Regions from separate parts of the Homo sapiens genome. Here region 1 is linked to region 2. Evidence: promoter capture Hi-C in 16 types of primary human blood cells and fetal thymus (Javierre and others, 2016). All regions are on one chromosome and are shown on one strand. Each heading gives the region's core, a stretch centred on a gene start or on the middle of the fragment in contact. The rest is flanking DNA. Distances are from core to core; before and after follow the strand shown. Region 1 overlaps ZNF131 (zinc finger protein 131). Region 2 holds the start of CCL28 (C-C motif chemokine ligand 28).

Evidence for each region. Contacts are between HindIII fragments. The CHiCAGO score rates a contact against its expected background, and 5 or more counts as called.
Region 1: a fragment that was not itself captured here is called in contact with the fragment with the promoter of CCL28 in region 2 in 4 of 17 cell types (erythroblasts, M1 macrophages, M2 macrophages and 1 more); the score reaches 8.4 in erythroblasts.

What each region holds. Positions count from the first base shown.
Region 1 is chr5:43,150,299-43,152,998 of GRCh38, forward strand. All of the region lies in intron 4 of ZNF131 (zinc finger protein 131), which reads left to right. Among named protein-coding and RNA genes, the nearest start is that of ZNF131, 31 kb to the left of the region's middle. The HindIII fragment of the contact is 9,324 bases long and covers 1-2,700 here.
Region 2 is chr5:43,410,954-43,413,653 of GRCh38, forward strand. It overlaps CCL28 (C-C motif chemokine ligand 28), which reads right to left and starts at 1,438. Exons shown (of 3, transcript NM_148672.3): 1 at 1,300-1,438. The coding sequence starts at 1,363. The HindIII fragment of the contact is 1,630 bases long and covers 318-1,947 here.

The DNA.
Region 1 (2,700 bases), core at 98-2,597, 260 kb before region 2:
TGTACAGACAACTTTGAAAAGATAGTCCAAAATAAAAGGCTCTCAATGTCTTTGTTTATAAGACATGCAGAAACATTATGAGTATCCATGGAGAGTTGTCTTGTTCCATATCCTTGTTTCTGTATTATCCTGGCTGGTACTGAATTTTCCCCATAAGTACAGCACTTCTTTAGCCGCTCTGATTAATCTGACCGTAGGGACCAGGACCTGGCTGGGTGCGGTGGCTCATGCCTGTAATCCCAGCACTTTGGGAGGCCGAGGCGGGCGGATCATCTGAGGTCAGGAGTTCGAGACCAGCCTGGCTAACGTGGTGGAACCCCATTTCTACTAAAAATACAAAAAAATTAGCTGGGCACGGTGACACATGCCTGTAATCCCAGCTACTCAGGAGGCTGAGGCAGGAGAATTGCTGAGGCTGCAGTGAACTGAGATCGCGCCATTGCACTCTGGCTTGGGCAACAAGAGTGAAACTCTGTCCCAAAAACAAACAAAAAACACAGGGACCAGGACCTAATCCATTCAGTTTTTCTCCTACTGGATTTATTTAAGGATTTATTGAAGTCAACAGAACTTCAAGCAGCAGGATTTGGGCACCCTGCCGTGTTGACCTTAATCATGCACCCACCACACTAAGGTTCATTCTGGACTCAGCCAACTGAACAAATCCCTAGAAAAACAGGTGACTTTCTTTTTCGGTTTCTGTATTGACTTTTCCACTTAGCCCTGGGCATTAGTCTAAGTATAGCAAGATGCTTTACAATTATACAGGCTCCACATTGTCCCATAGGGAGGATGTCTACTAGGGCAAGTTTTTCATTCATAATAAACCTGGCCCCAGTGGCTTGAAGCTGACATAAATGCCTTCCAGAGCCCAAGTGATATCAGTGAACATATCAGCTTAAGTCATGCACAATGTTGTACCACTTTTTTAATTGGATTACTCCTATTAGGGAAAACTGCCCACGGGATGTGCATAAATAAGTCAGTTATTATTCTAGGAAGCATCCCTTTGAGAATTTCTAACCAAGAGTATCCTTAAATGAGACCTCCACAGTCACCCGAGGGCTGCTTGATCTTCCTTAAACACTTGATGGTCTCTTATAACCACCTCTTAGGTGTAAGTCGTCATTTTGTTTCGTTTTGTTTTGTTTTTTTGAGACGGAGTCTCACTCTGTGCCCAGGCTGGAGTGCAGTGACGCAATCTCAGTTCGCTGCAACCTCTGCCTTCTGGGCTCAAGCAATACTCCTGCCTCAGCCTCCCTAGTAGCTGGGATTACAGGCACCTGCCACCTCACCCTGCTAATTTTTGTATTTTTGGCAGAAATGAGGTTTCTCCATGTTGGCCAGACGGGTCTCCAACTCCCGACCTCAAGTAACACACCTGCCTCGGAGTCCCAAAGTGCTGGGATTACAGGGACGAGCCACCGCGCCTTGCCAGTCATCGTATTTTTGTGAGGCAAGGAAATTAGTACCTGGCTTCCACACAAGAAGCACAGTCCCAGGGGCACATAGGAACCCTGAAAGGAAAGTACTATTTGCAATTGTTCGTGCCTCCAAAGTAGGCACGAACCTGCATCAGTGTAGAGGCACAGATTGATATAGCCTCCAATGTAGTCTCCTTTCCCAGTTCAATTAGAATGATTCAGTCTAGTTCTAGTTTTTGGAGAGACTGAGGACAGGACAGTCAGTTGACTTCTTTCCTATTTATTTATTTATTTATTTATTGAGATGGAGTCCCGCTCTGTCGCCCAGGCTGGAGTGCAGTGACATGATCTTGGCTCACTGCCTCTACCTCCCAGGTTCAAGTGATTCTCCTGCCTCAGATTCCCCGGTAGCTGGGACTACAGGCACGTGCCACTAGGTTGAGCTAACTTTTGTGTTTTTAGTGGAGACGGAGTTTCACCACGTTGGCCAGGCTGGTCTCGAACTCCCGACCTCAAGTGATCCGCCTGCTTCAGCATCCCAAAGTGCTGGGATTACAGGTGTGAGCCACCACTCCCAGCCGAGTCTGTCCTATTTATCACAAGCTCCTGAATGCCAGCTGACTTGAGTAGTAACTGTCCACCTCATGGACTGATCTCAGCTATGAGAATGGTAGTGGAGCATGGTGTTTTGCCTGCGACACACAGGAGTCATCCCCAGCTGTTTTTAGAAGATATGTTGGTAAAGTTAAGGGAAACCACTTGGCAGGGAATGGCAAACACAGCAGTCAGTTTAAAAATGCTTATAGCCATTGGAGAGACCTGCAACTGAGCATTTTTCTTAATTTGAAAGGTTCTAGGGGCAGTTCTGAAAGACAAAGGTGGTTTGTTTTGTTTTGTTTTTGGAGACAGGGTCTCACTGTGTCACCCAGGCTGGAGTGCAGTGGTGCAATCACAGCTCACTGCAGCTGTAACTTTCCAGGCTCAGATGATCCTCCCACCTCAGCCTCCCAAAGGAGCTGAGACTGTAGACATGTGCCACCATGCCCAGCTAATCTTTTATAATTTTTTGTGGAGATGGGGTCTTACTATGTTCTCCAGGCTGTTCTTAAACTCCCGGACTCAAGCGATCCTCCCGCCTCAGCCTCCCAAAGTGCTGGTATTATAGGTGTGAGCCACCACACCCAGCTTGACAAAGATTATTGTCCCTCCCTGCCCTATATCTTCTGGAGTCGTAAGATGTTTCTCTCCCTAGATGGCAAGATTGTCATTCCTCCTT
Region 2 (2,700 bases), core at 188-2,687:
CTTATTTGTATAAGCCCAGTACATTGACGGACTATATTGGGAGTCCCTAAGCAAATGCCTGCAGGGACCAGGCAGTTAATACAGCAAACTTCAGAGGCTCATCTGCTTTAGCCAGTTCTTGCCATGGTATGGTGGAATCATTGTTGCCACATCTGATTTCTCAAGAGAAGCTTTAAAATCCAATTTGTATGTGTGTATGTATGAGTATGTACATGAGAAAGCTTTCAGTTTTAAAATGTTGGCTCAGATTTTTAAAAAGCAGACCAAAGACTTATATTCCACCTCTGCTCTAGACTTAGAGAATCTGTTCAGGATAAAGCTTAAAGAAAAGATGACAATGGAAAAGAGTCATTGGTCAAGTATTAAGTACTGACACTTAGGGTTTCCTGAATATAGTAGTGAGTGCTACTTTAGAAGAGATTCCCTCTAGTTCAAATGCAGTTACAATCTCCAAATACATGCTAGCAACTCACGATTTAAATTCTCTTTGACATAATTTGTATGGTTCAATCTCCCTCATCCTGCTTTTCTTCTTTTTCTTTCTTTCCTTTCCTTTCTTCCTTTCCTTCTCTTTCCCCTCCCCTCCCCTCTTTTTGTTTTTAACAGATGGGGTTTTACTATGTTGCCCAAGCTGGAGTGCAGTGGCAATTCAGAGTGCAGTGGCAATTCACAGTGTGATCATAGCTCACTGCAATCTTGAATTCCTGGCCTGAAGCTATCCTCCAGCCGTAGCCTCCCAAGTAGGTGGGAATACAGGCATGCACCACTGTGCTCAGCTCTGCCCTCCCTTTTTAAAGGTCAGACTGAAGTTTCAGTTTTCTGTATCCATAGAGCTGACTTTGCTCAGGAAATTTACAACTTACCTAATTTGAACGCAGCTGGCCAAGTCTGTATTTCCCTCCAGGAATGTGCACAGTTGTGTTCAGACCGTTTAGCAGGTTGGGGTGTGGAGGAAGACAGATGAATAGTAGGGGCTTTACTCCAGCCTCTAGCTGGGGATTTTCTAAGATACTGTCTTCAGAAAAGGAAACATAGCTCGAAGTTGTACCTACATGGAAGGACCTCATCCTCCAGGTGGCAAAAATTTGTAGTATGCCTGTTAGAATGAGGTTCCTTCCTGAAACTTCTGGGAGATCTAGAATTTAAAGCTATGTCATTCTCTTGTAGGTAATCAGAAATCAATTGGAAATTCCTGCTTGAAGAGATAGATATTCTTGCCCCACCTCAATCCTTCCAGCACAGATTTGGGAGATACCCCCCTTTCCAGTGAAGGCCTAAGTGTCCAGTGCCCCCACTCACCTTCTGAGGCATGTAGGGCCGCACAGACAGCCAAGGCCACGATGGCGAGTCCTCTCTGCTGCATTCCTGCCTGCCCTACTGGCACTGACAGCAACACAAGTGAGGCTGTTCGATCAGGAAATGAGGCTAAAGGTGTCCTTGGGCACAGAGAAAGTGCAGAGGAAAAGTAAGCCAGGTGGCCCCGCCCTGGGAGGTGTTCAGGGTATCTATTTCTCATGTTTCTTTCCTTAAGACCAGGCTCCTCCTCGACTTATTAAGCTCCTAACTTGTGTTCATCCTGCCTGGGGGTCAGGGGATGTCAATGGAGATCTGGCAGCTGGCAGGGTCACTGTGAGGTGGGGTGTGCATCAGAATCATTTGGGGAACATTAAAAAAAATCAATCTAAATGACTCTCCCCTTTCCCTGATTTGTAAACCAGAACTCCCAGGTAGGAGACCAGTCATTTGAATTTTGTAAAAGCTCTATAGGTGATTCTGATGGACACTTATGTTGAGACCCATTGCATAATCAGTTTTTAAGTAGCTTATGGAAACCATGAGTTTCTGGGGACAAGGGTGACAAGTCATAAAAAATGTATCTTTGTGGAAAGATATGGAAGTATTAAACCCCACTTTAGTCTTGGTTCACAGCCAAATTGTTTCCAGTGAAGCTTTTTACAATAGCTTATTTAGGAGAAAGACAGGAAGGGGGGCAATGCCTTGTAGAAAAGAGCCCAAGAGCAGGTGTGAAGAGGCATGAGCGCTAGTGCAGCTTTGCTGCCAATCAGCTTTGTGAATAAAAGCATGGGGTAGCATGAAGATAATTGGATTCTAATTGTTCCTCATCTACTAATAAGTTGTATAACCTCAGGCAACGTACTTAACTTTGCTGTAAATAACAAGTCAGACTAGATGACCTCCAAAGTCATGCCATGCTTCCTCTAGAACTGTGTTGTCCTATGTGGTAGCCGCTAGCCCACATGTGGCTCTTGAGCACTTGAAATATGAGTAGTCCAAACTCAGATGTACTATGGGTATAAAATTCACACTGGATTTCAAAGACTGGGTACAGAAAAAAATATAAAATATCTTGTTAATAATGTTTATACTGTTTATTGATTACATGATAGTATTTTGGACTTTTTGGGTTAAATAAAATATATTATTAAAATTAATTTCACCCATTTCTTTTTATGTTTTCAAATTACTGCTGTGGTTTGAATATTTTTTTCTTCTCCAAAGCTCATGTTGAAAATTAATCCCTAATAGTGCTGGGAGATAGGGCCTAATGGACAATGTTTAGGTTATGATGGCTCCACCCTCATGAATGGATGAATGCTACTATAAAAAGGGCTTGTGGGAATGGGTTGGTACCTTCTGCTCTTCTGCCAGGTGAGTACACAATGCTCCTTCTCTCCAAAA